Linked DNA regions of Homo sapiens: all the other regions are linked to region 3. Evidence: promoter capture Hi-C in 16 types of primary human blood cells and fetal thymus (Javierre and others, 2016). All regions are on one chromosome and are shown on one strand. The core of a region is centred on a gene start or on the middle of the fragment in contact, and the rest is flanking DNA. Distances in the headings are between cores, read along the strand shown.

What was found. The method cuts DNA at HindIII sites, captures the fragments that hold promoters and counts their contacts. A CHiCAGO score of 5 or more calls a contact.
Region 1: a fragment that was not itself captured here is called in contact with the fragment with the promoter of TRIM58 in region 3 in 1 of 17 cell types (megakaryocytes); the score reaches 6.3 in megakaryocytes.
Region 2: a fragment that was not itself captured here is called in contact with the fragment with the promoter of TRIM58 in region 3 in 1 of 17 cell types (megakaryocytes); the score reaches 11.0 in megakaryocytes.

Annotation. Positions count from the first base shown.
Region 1 is chr1:247,703,849-247,707,912 of GRCh38, forward strand. No RefSeq gene overlaps it. Among named protein-coding and RNA genes, the nearest start is that of OR6F1, 11 kb to the right of the region's middle. The HindIII fragment of the contact is 5,591 bases long and covers 1-4,064 here.
Region 2 is chr1:247,685,093-247,688,936 of GRCh38, forward strand. No RefSeq gene overlaps it. Among named protein-coding and RNA genes, the nearest start is that of OR13G1, 7.3 kb to the left of the region's middle. RefSeq lists an enhancer at 2,399-3,000. The HindIII fragment of the contact is 4,475 bases long and covers 1-3,844 here.
Region 3 is chr1:247,854,140-247,858,436 of GRCh38, forward strand. It overlaps TRIM58 (tripartite motif containing 58), which reads left to right and starts at 3,048. Exons shown (of 6, transcript NM_015431.4): 1 at 3,048-3,527. The coding sequence starts at 3,108. RefSeq lists a cis regulatory region at 961-1,525. The HindIII fragment of the contact is 2,229 bases long and covers 1,933-4,161 here.

The DNA of each region.
Region 1 (4,064 bases), core at 794-3,293, 150 kb before region 3:
CCCTCCACCCATGATACGCCCCAGTATGTATTGTTCCCCTCTATGTGTCCATGTGTTCTCACCATTTAGCTCCCACTTAAAAGTGAGAACATGTGGAATTTGGTTTCTGTTCCTGGGTTAGTTTGCTAAGGATAATGGTCTCCAGCTCCATCCATGTTTCTGCAGACGACATGATCTCATTCTTTTTTACAGCTGCATAGTATTCCATGGTGTGTATGTACCACATTTTCTTTATCCGGTCTATTTGTGATGGACATTTAGGTTGATTCCATGTCATTGCTATTGTGAATAGTGTTGCAATGAACATACGTGTGCATGTGTCTTTATATATTGTAATGATTTATTTTCTTTTTGGTAGATAGTAATGGAATTGCTGTTTTGAATATAATGACTAAATATAATTTAATTTTACCCTCACCATTGTACAAAAATTATGTGTGCATAGATTTAATTTTTAGATTGATTGTTATATTCCTTCAGTGCTGTATTTGTTGTACAAAGGCAATTTATTATGGTTAAACCTATTTTTTTCAAACTTCTATTTTCCCTGATGGGGCATCTATTGTTTTTCCACTGCCAGTAATTTATTACTGGAAGATAATTCTGAATAATATGTATTTTATCTACAAATGTATCATCGTAAGTTATAGGCTAAAGAAAGAAGAAAGAAAAGTGAATCAGAATTCTAGTAGTCAAGTATATTTGCTTGAAAATTAATTATGCAAATTATGCTTAAGTGGGGTGTGTTTTTAAATCAGTATAGAAAGAAAAGACCTGAGTCAATGAAAGCATTCTGTTCATTTCGATACTCCTTCACTTAACATTAAGTTTTAGATACAATTCCATATCAAAATGATTCATTCACTTGAAAAGCTGAAGACTACATTCTTCTTTTCAGTACTGAGGTGAGTAGCAGAAGTAGAGAGGTGTTGAAGATAACTCTTGTTGAGATAGATAGTAGGTGCTGCTTTTGGAGGTTTTGGAAATTGAGGCCTAACCTATGGAAACAGGAAGGCTATTCATCCTCAGAGGGTAGCAATCTGATTTTTATTAGGAATTTTGATTTTTAGAAATCTCCAAGAATATGTTTAGGAATGCCATGGATCTGAAACTAATCCTCAGAATGAATAAATGAAGGGAACAGATCAGGTACGCAGTGTTTTTTATGAGTACTGTATTAGGGTTCTCTAGAGAGACAGAACTAATAGGATATATATTAACATATATATACATGTATGGAGAGTTTACTAAGTATTAACTTACGTGATCACAAAGTTCCACAATCGGGTGTCTGCAAGCTGAAGAGCACGGAGAACCAGTCCGAGTCCCAAAACTGAAGAACTTGGAGTCCTATGTTGGAGGGCAGGAAGCATCCAGCCCAGGAGAAAGATGTAGGCTGGGAGGCTAGATCTTTCCTTTTCATGTTTTTCTGCCTGCTTTATATTCCCTGGCAGCTGATTAGATTGTGTCCACTACATTAAGGGTGGATCTGCCGTCCCCAGCCCACTGACTCAAATGTTAATCTCTTTTGGCAACACCCTCACAGACACACCCAGGAGCAATACCTTGTATCCTTCAATCCAATCAAATTGTTGCTCAGTATTAACCATCACAAGTCCACCCTTTGTCAACTTGAACCCATACACATCTCCTGAAATCATACCTAATCTTCAAATAAAGACAATAATAAGGTCATAATTATGCCTAACATAATACAACTATCCCTCATACAACTGGAAACACACCAATCCCCAACTCAAATACTATTACATAAAGTTAACAATATTTAAATGCTGATATGAAGTCAATAAATTTTATGTCACATGATAAAGGAAAAAAGAAATAAAATACAGATATTTTCTCAATACAAGTGTATACATGCACAAACATGTTTTTAACAAAAGAAGGAAGACATACTCATGACAATTACAGTCCCCATTTCTGCAGCTGGTCATGTGGTCACAGTTGGTACTGATGACTACCTTCTTCTATTACCCATTCTGTATTCCCTTTGCCCTCAGCAAGCACCTCAACACATCGTGGTTATTTTCCTGATGGAGTGACCCAAACTTTCATTCCTGAAGGGTCTGGGCCATTTGTAGTCCTGCCTGGATTGGGCTGTTGTAGTTTCCCATTGACATTAATCACAGGGCATGGTAATACTAAGAGATGCCCTCATGGATCTCCTGGTTTTCATGCATACTCTTCTTCACCTCCGTTGTGGAGTAGTAGACTGATTTCATCTTGATAGCCTGGGCCAATCACCCCAGCCAACACGGTAACTTCCTTCTTAGCCTGTTGACTTAAAGATAGGAGGAGCCCAAAGTGTCCAAGTGGCAATCTTAACTTCCAGTTTAATAGGATCATTGTTGTGTCTCCTGGTGGCAGCATTCCTCCCTCTGGAACAAAGACCTCTAGACAAGAAGAACGTAATATTGTGGGAACAGGAAGCAAAAATTTTGCTACTGGATCACTAGGAGTGATGGTGGGTGGTGCCACTTCCATTTCCACCCACTGAATCCTGGATCCGTGAATCCTGGCTATGGGAGAAACAGTACCATATATTGGACGCTGATTCAGAGCATACATGGCCTTCTGAAGAACTTTGCCCCAGCCGTGCAAAGTACTGTCACCTAGTTGGCATTGCAATTGTGACTTGAAAAGGCCATTCCCCCATTCTATCAATCCAGCTGCTTCAGGATGATGGGGAACATGGTAAGACCAGTGAATTCCATGAACATGAGCCACTGCTGCACTTCTTCAGCCATAAAGTGAGTGCCTTGGTCAGAGGCAACGCTATGTGGAATACCATGACAGTGGATAATACATTCTATGAGTTGATGGAAGGTAGTCTTGGCAGAAGCCTTGCATGAAGGATAGGCAAACTCCCATCCAGAGTAAGCGTCTATTCCAGTGAGCACAAATCTCTGCCCTTTCCAAGATGGAAGAGGTCCAATATAATCAACCTGCCACTGGGTAGCTGGCTGATCACCCTGAGGAATGGTGCCATATCGAGGTCTCAGTGATGGTCTCTGCTGCTAGCAAGTTGGGCACTCAGCAGTGGCCGTAACAAGGTCAGCCTTGGTGAGTGGAAGTCCATGTTGCTGAGCCCATGTGTAACCTCCATCCCTGCCACCATGGCCACTTTGTCCATGGGCCAAAGACGTGGGCGATGACAGAGGTGGCTGGGGAAAGAGGCTGTGTGGTGTCCATGGAATGGGTCATTCTGTCCACTTTATTATTAAAATCTTCCTCTGCTGAGGTCAACCATTGCTGAGAACTTACATGGGGTACAAATATCTTCACAGTTTTTGTCCACTCAGAGAGGTCCACCCACATGCCTCCTCCCCAGATTTCTTTGTCACCAATTTTCCAATCATGCTTCTTCCAAGTCCCTGATCATCCAGCCATACCATTGGCTACAGCCCATGAATCAGTACATAATCACACATCTGGCCATTTCTCCTTCCATGCAAGGTGCACAACCAGGTGCACTGCTTGAAGTTCTGCCCACTGGGAAGATTTCCTTTCACCGCTGTCCTTCAGGGATGTCCTAGAAAGGAGCTGTAGTGCTGCAGCTGTCCACTTTCTGGTGGTGCCTACATATCATGCAGAACCATCGGTAAACCAGGCCCTAGTCCTCTCTTCCTCTGTCAGCTTATCATAGGGAACTCCTGATGAGGCCATCGGTGCAGGCTTTGGGGAGAGAAGGCAGGTGGCAGGAGTGGAGACTATGGGCATTTGAGCCATTTCCTCATGTAACTTGTGCCTTCAGGATCTGCTGGAGCCTGATCCCATATATACTACTTCCAGTTGATGATGGAATGCTGCTGTGCACAACCCACTTTATGGCTGGATGGGTCAGAAAGCACCCAGTTCATGATAGGCAGTTCAGGTCGCATGTTGACTTGATGACTTATAGTCAATTTTTCAGTTTCCACCAAAGCCCAGTAACAGGCCAAGAGCTGTCTCTCAAAAGGAGAGTAGTTATCTGCAGAAGATGGCAGGGCCTTGCTCCAAAATCCTAGAGGCGTCCACTGTGATTCACCTATGGAGGCCTGCCA
Region 2 (3,844 bases), core at 357-2,856, 170 kb before region 3:
TTTTTTTTTTTAATAATACCGTTGTGGTAGGTTTTATGTGTTTAATAATTTGTTCATTTCCTGTAGGTGTTCCAATTAGTTGACTTATAATAGTTAATGACAGTATTTTATGATCCTTCATATTTCTGTGGCATCAGTTGTGTAAGGTCTTTTTTAATCTTTTATTTTATTGAGTCTTGTCTTTTGTTTCTAAGTTATTTTGTCTATTTTTTCAAAAAAATTATTTTTTTCATTGCTCTTTTGTAACGTTTTGTCTCTATTTTGCTTATTTCTGCCCTAACCTTTATTGTTTCTTTTCTTTTAATAATTTTCAATGAAGTTTGTTCTTATTTTTCTATTTACTTGTGGTGCAATATTAGGTTGTTTACTTAAGATCTTACTTTTTTGATGCAGGTGTTTATTGGCATAAATTGAATTTTGAGAACTGATTTTCCTACATCCCAAGATTTTGATATGTTGTATTTTTTTATTTGTCTCAAAAATGTTTTTAATTTGCCTTTTAATTTCATCATTTACCGATTGGTTGTTCAGAAGCATTTTGTTCAGTTTCCATGTATTAGTAAACTTTCCAAAGTTCCTCCTCTTGTTGATTCATAGTTTTATATAATAAAATACACTATAAATTTTAATCTTGTTAAATCTGTTAAGACTTGTTACGTGGCTTGATGTATGATCTATTCTAGGGAATGTTCCATGTGCAATTGAGAAGCATGTGTATTCTGCAGCTGTTGGATGGAATGTTCTGTAAACATCTGCTAGGTCCATTTGGTCTAGAGTGCAGTTTAGTTCTGGTAGATTTTACGTATCTAGGAATTTCTTCATTTCTCCTAGCTTATCCAATTTGTTGGTGTTTTCTTGTTCGTAAGTGTCTCTTATGTCCTCTGTATTTCTCTGGTATCAGTAGTAATGTCTCATTTCTATTTCTATGTCTCATTTTTATTTCTATTTTATTTGAGTCTTTCATGAGGCTGTTTGTCAATTTGTTTATCTTTTAAAAACAATAACTCTTAATTTTGTTGCTCTTTTCCATTTTTTGTCTCTTTTATTTAAATCTGCTCTGAATCTTATTTCTCTCTCTCTCTCTCTTTTTTTTCTCTAACTCTAGGCCTAATGTGTTATTTTTTCCAGTTCTTTGAAGTGTAATTTTATGTCTTTTTTTATTTGGGAGCCTCTTTCTTTTTAGATGTAGGCTTTTTTTTTGCTATAAACTTTTGTCTTATTACTGCATTTTTAAATCCCATACATTTTGGTATCTTGTATACTCATTTTGTTTGTCTCAAGATATTTTTAATATCCCTTTTATTTTCTATTTGAACCGCTGGTTGTTTCAAAACATGGTGTTGAATTTCCATATATTTGTGAATTTTCTGATATTTATTCTCTTCCTGATTTCTAGTTTTATATTGTGTACTCATGAGAAATGCTTGATAGTATTTCAGTCTTTTAAAATGCTAAGGCTTGTGTTGTGGCTAAACACATGATATGTCCTGTAAAGGGTTTCATGTGTGCTTGAGAATAATGTGTATTCTTCTGCTATTGAATACATAATATACATTCTGTATAAGTGTGTTATAATTTAATCTAAATTGTAGTTCATGTCCAATGTTTTCTTATTGATTTTCTTGGTGGATAATGTATCCATTGTTAAAAGGGAGTAGAGAAGTCCCCTGCTCTTATTATATGGCAGTTTATCTATTTCTTTATATGTACTAATATTTGCAGATCTGATAATATTAATATTTTACCAGAAGGTGGGAAGGGAGGAGAGGTGAAGAGAAGTTGCTTACTGGGTACAAAAATACAGTTAGATAGAATATATTCTACTGTTTGTAGCACAGTATGGTGACTGTAGTTAGCAAAAATTAATTGTATATTTCAAAATAGCTAGAAGTGAAGATTTAAATGTTTCCAACAAGGGAAATGATCAATCTTTGAGGTGATGGATATTCTAATTACCCTGATTTGATAATCACACATTGTATGCATGTATCACAGTGCCAATATGAACCCTATAAATATGTACAGTTACAGTTATACTTTGATAAAGATACTGCAAAAGTTAAAAAATGAAAAGAAAGATCGAGGAGGAGCCAAGATGGCCGAATAGGAACAGCTCCGGTCTACAGCTCCCAGCGTGAGCGACGCAGAAGACGGGTGATTTCTGCATTTCCATCTGAGGTACCGGGTTCATCTCAATAGGGAGTGCCAGACAGTGGGCGCAGGCCAGTGTGTGTGCGCACCGTGCGCAAGCCGAAGCAGGGCGAGGCATTGCCTCACCTGGGAAGTGCAAGGGGTCAGGGAGTTCCCTTTCCGAGTCAAAGAAAGGGGTGACGGACGTACCTGGAAAATCGGGTCACTCCCACCCGAATATTGCGCTTTTCAGACTGGCTTAAGAAACGGCGCACCACGAGACTATATCCCACACCTGGCTCAGAGGGTCCTACGCCCACGGAATCTCGCTGATTGCTAGCACAGCAGTCTGAGATCAAACTGCAAGGCGGCAACGAGGCTGGGGGAGGGGCGCCCGCCATTGCCCAGGCTTGCTTAGGTAAACAAAGCAGCCGGGAAGCTCGAACTGGGTGGAGCCCACCACAGCTCAAGGAGGCCTGCCTGCCTCTGTAGGCTCCACCTCTGGGGGCAGGGCACAGACAAACAAAAAGACAGCAGTAACCTCTGCAGACTTAAGTGTCCCTGTCTGACAGCTTTGAAGAGAGCAGTGGTTCTCCCAGCACGCAGCTGGAGATCTGAGAACGGGCAGACTGCCTCCTCAAGTGGGTCCCTGACCCCTGACCCCCGAGCAGCCTAACTGGGAGGCACCCCCCAGCAGGGGCACACTGACACCTCACACGGCAGGGTATTCCAACAGACCTGCAGCTGAGGGTCCTGTCTGTTAGAAGGAAAACTAACAACCAGAAAGGACATCTACACCGAAAACCCATCTGTACATCACCATCATCAAAGACCAAAAGTAGATAAAACCACAAAGATGGGGAAAAAACAGAACAGAAAAACTGGAAACTCTAAAATGCAGAGCGCCTCTCCTCCTCCAAAGGAACGCAGTTCCTCACTAGCAACAGAACAAAGCTGGATGGAGAATGATTTTGACGAGCTGAGAGAAGAAGGCTTCAGACGATCAAATTACTCTGAGCTACGGGAGGACATTCAAACCAAAGGCAAAGAAGTTGAAAACTTTGAAAAAAATTTAGAAGAATGTATAACTAGAATAACCAATACAGAGAAGTGCTTAAAGGAGCTGATGGAGCTGAAAACCAAGGCTCGAGAACTACGTGAAGAATGCAGAAGCCTCAGGAGCCGATGCGATCAACTGGAAGAAAGGGTATCAGCAATGGAAGATGAAATGAATGAAATGAAGCGAGAAGGGAAGGTTAGAGAAAAAAGAATAAAAAGAAATGAGCAAAGCCTCCAAGAAATATGGGACTATGTGAAAAGACCAAATCTACGTCTGATTGGTGTACCTGAAAGTGATGTGGAGAATGGAACCAAGTTGGAAAACACTCTGCAGGATATTATCCAGGAGAACTTCCCCAATCTAGCAAGGCAGGCCAACGTTCAGATTCAGGAAATACAGAGAACGCCACAAAGATACTCCTCGAGAAGAGCAACTGCAAGACACATAATTGTCAGATTCACCAAAGTTGAAATGAAGGAAAAAATGTTAAGGGCAGCCAGAGAGAAAGGTCGGGTTACCCTCAAAGGAAAGCCCATCAGACTAACAGCGGATCTCTCGGCAGAAACCCTACAAGCCAGAAGAGAGTGGGGGCCAATATTCAACATTCTTAAAGAAAAGAATTTTCAACCCAGAATTTCATATCCAGCCAAACTA
Region 3 (4,297 bases), core at 1,798-4,297:
CCTTAGGATCACAGGCACTAGGAAATCTGAATTTAAGTGAGCCTAGTTATCAACTGGCCCATATATTTGAGTAAATGGATTGTTTTACTGTGTCTCGTTATGCCTGCAAAATAGAAAAATGCTCCAGCATCTGCCAGAGTTATGGAGAGCCAGGGCAAGATCATATATGTAAAATGCAGAAAAACATGGATTTGACATTTGACATAATATAATCATCTTTGAACTTCCCTCTTTCATTAGCTCCTATGATAAACTGTCCTAATTCTGTTCATTTACTTATTAACTTGTTTAATCAGTTAGTATGTGTGGAGTGTCCATTTGTGCCAGTTACTCTTCAAGGTCCTGGGGATAGATAGAGCAGTGAACAAAATAGAAAAAAATCTCTCTTCCTAATGTAGCTTACCTTTTGACTCACCATCCTTCCATTCACTTCACTATTTCATTTCCTTTTCTTCAATTAAATATATTTGCTACATGGCCGGGCGAGGTGGCTCACACTTGTAATCCCAGCACTTTGGGAGGCCAAGGTGGGGAGATTGTTTGAACCCAGGAGTTTGAGACCAGCCTGGGCAACAGGGCGAAACTCTGTCTCTACAAAAAATACAAAAATTAGCTGGGCGTGGTGGCGGGCACCTGTAGTCGCAGGTACTTGGGAGGCTGAGGTGAGAAGATCACTTGAGCCTGAAAGGTAGAGGCTACAGTGAGTCAGGTTGTGGCACTACACTATAGCCTGGGCAGCAGAGCAAGACCCTGTCTCAATATATATACGTGTGTGTGTGTGTGTGTGTGTGTGTGTGTGTGTATTTCCAACATGCCAGGACCTATATTAAGTGTCTACTATCTATTAGCTCGTTTAATACTCTGAAAGGCCTTATATGAATGACACTAACACCTCTTCACTGCACGTCAGAAGAAATGCAGGGCAGAAACGCGGCACAGCTTGCCTCAAGCTTCTCAGCAAGTGCCACAGCCCTTAGTCCGGAGCCAGAGTCTGTTTTTCTTTGCTAAGCCTTCTGCTCTTTAGCTTTTTTCTCTAATGCCACATCTTTCGTGTTTTGCTAATACAGATCCATGTGTGTTCTCCAAGAATCTATTCGCTTTAATTGCGCACTTAACCTTTAGGCCTCAAGATCCTCTGCTCTGCCTGTCGCCAGAGATCCAGCCCAAGAGTTTGTCCTTATAATGAAGACCCACAAACCCCAGAGGATCCCCAAGGACCTGAGTCATCTGGCCCCGCCTCTTGCTGCAGCCTTATCTGCTGCCACCATATTCTGGCCCAGCTTGCCAGCCTGCCTGGCTTCTCACTGTCATCTGGGTATGTCTTGCTCCCACCTGCTGAAGTTTACCTTGTACCTTTCATGGCTTCTGGGGGCACGGCCTTGCGGAGCCCCCCTTCCCGCTGGCCAGCTTGTGTTCACCTATCAGAGGTTTGCTCAGAGACCTCAGGTGTCTGCCCCCGACCCTGCAGCCTCATTCAGAGTCCTCTGTTATATTCCTGCAGGACTGGTGAGCGACCTTCCTTGCAGTTATTGGTTTGTAATTATATGTTTGCATGATTTCATATCCACCTCTTCTAGTTGATCTTAAGGCTCCTGGAGAAATGGGGTCCCACCTCTTTTCCTTAACATGTGTATTTTCAGTACCCGGTGCAATGTCTGAGACTCCTGGCTACAAACAGACACAATGTGTGCTCAGGGACAGATTGATTTGCCACAGGTACACCCCACCATCACTTCAAACTCGACCATACTAAAGTTATTTTGCACAGATGCAGACACTGCCTCAGACTTGTCGACTTTCTGGACGACATTAGAGACTTTAATGTACTTTATCCTGATTCAGCCTTCCACTGGATGAAGTAACATACTCTGTCAAATCATTTTGCTCCTGTCTCAGCCTCCCCCATCTGACAGGTACACCACTGAGAGGCTAAGCTTGAATTATTCCTCTGATGAGTATCTCTATAGCTTTGTCATCTCCAAGACTGGCTTTGCAACAATCCTACAACATGTGTGTATTCCTTGTAGGATCCTCATTGAACTAGGCCAGATATTTATTTAAATATTTAGAATTATTTTTGGCTGGGCTGTAAACCTATAGTTACACACACCTATGCAGGCATCTTCCCGTGTCAGGCGGTGTCTCATTTCTTTATCAAGAGGTAATTAGTGCAAGAGAAAAAAATGAAGTTTGAAAAAAACATTTAAAAATTGATTATGCCATATAAAGGGGGAAAGCCTTTTAAGAAACGATTATGGCATGAGAGGACCATGGAGTAGCTCAGTAACAATGGAAGGGGCTCGGAGGGTGGAAGGCGGGCGAGGGATGAGAGATCACCTAATGAGAACAATTTACGCTATCACAGCGATGCCTGCGCTAAAGCCTAGACTTTATGCAGTGTCTCCATGTAACAAAACTGCACTGGTACCCCAGAAATCTGCACTAAATCTATATAATGATGATGGAGGCTGGGCGCGGTGGCTCGCGCCTGTAATCCCAGCACTCTGGGAGGTCGAGGCGGGCAGATCACCTGAGGTCACGAGTTCAAGACCAGGCTGACCAAAATGGTGAAACCCCGTCTCTACTAAAAATACAAAAATTAGCCGGGCATGGTGGCGGGCGCCTGTAATCCCTGCTGCTTGCGAGGCTGAGGCAGGAGAATCGCTTGAACCCGGGAGGCGGAGGCTGCAGTGAGCCGAGATCGCGCCACCGCACTCCAGCCTGGGCGACAGAGCGAGACTCCCTCTCAAAAAAACAAAAACAAAAACAAACAAACAAAGATGGAAGGAAGGAGGGAATTTAGCAATTCTCCAGATCTACTGCCAGTGAAAATAGCATATGAGGAGGGATTCCAGTTAGAAATGCCCAGTTTCCTGGGTGTGTGTGTGACGGGGGCGGGGAACCACAACGTTAATTTTATCCCCGACATAGGGAGCGCCTGAGTGGTGGCTTTTCACCGGGTGTGGCTCGTCTGAGCTCTTGAACTGAAGCCAGCGGACACCACCCGTCGGCGCCTGCTTTCCTGGGGCGTGGGCTCCTCCCCCTGTGCAGACCGCGAGGGGAGACGGTGCGGGCGGCCGGGAGCGCAGCCCTCCGGGAGGCGGGTCATGGCCTGGGCGCCGCCCGGGGAGCGGCTGCGCGAGGATGCGCGGTGCCCGGTGTGCCTGGATTTCCTGCAGGAGCCGGTCAGCGTGGACTGCGGCCACAGCTTCTGCCTCAGGTGCATCTCCGAGTTCTGCGAGAAGTCGGACGGCGCGCAGGGCGGCGTCTACGCCTGTCCGCAGTGCCGGGGCCCCTTCCGGCCCTCGGGCTTTCGCCCCAACCGGCAGCTGGCGGGCCTGGTGGAGAGCGTGCGGCGGCTGGGGTTGGGCGCGGGGCCCGGGGCGCGGCGATGCGCGCGGCACGGCGAGGACCTGAGCCGCTTCTGCGAGGAGGACGAGGCGGCGCTGTGCTGGGTGTGCGACGCCGGCCCCGAGCACAGGACGCACCGCACGGCGCCGCTGCAGGAGGCCGCCGGCAGCTACCAGGTGAGGCGCCCCCCGGCGGGGGCTGCGGGCGCTGCGGTGACCGGGAAGCGGGCGACAGTCCGGAGCGGAGCCGCCGAGGCCACCCGTCTCCTGAGCGGCTCCCACGGCCGCTCCCCCCACCGCGCGCCGTCCCCCCCGCCCACGCGGCTCACTCAGTGTGGGTCTCTTTGCCTTGGCTGTGGTAACCCCCTTTGCGACACACACCCATTATTTTACACCGTCCGCCCCTCCCCCAAGCACTCTCCTGTCGTCGAACTCGCGCTGGGCTGGTTTCTCCCGATGCGGATAGTCTGGTCCCTCAGCTGGGCTCTGGTCGGGAGGGCTGTGTGGTCCAGTTCATTCTTGGTAACAATTGTACGTCTATATCGTAAACTTGCCATAATAATTCTCATTTGTGCAATGCTTTGCTTTTGCACAGTGTTTACATTAAATGAGTGTTGTCAGCAAAGCAACCCTCGGGTTTGGGCGTTGTTAAGAAGAGTGTCGAGCTGGGTACGGGTTCCGACCCCTCCAAAGCTCAGGTGCACGTGCCTCCTGAAGTAGGAGCGGGTGGCTCTCCATCAGCAGGGATTTGGGGACTTAGGATTCGAACATCCTCAATGAAGAGGTGCTTCATTTGGGGTGTAGCCCGGGAAGCTTCAAAGAGAAAGAAGAAAAACAAAATGGGAGTATTTGGTCCCCAGAGTGGCATCTGTGAAATTGTGTGTCGATTTCTTCCTACTGGTGCCCTTCAAAAGTTCTTGGATGTTTTCTGAACACACTTGAATCCC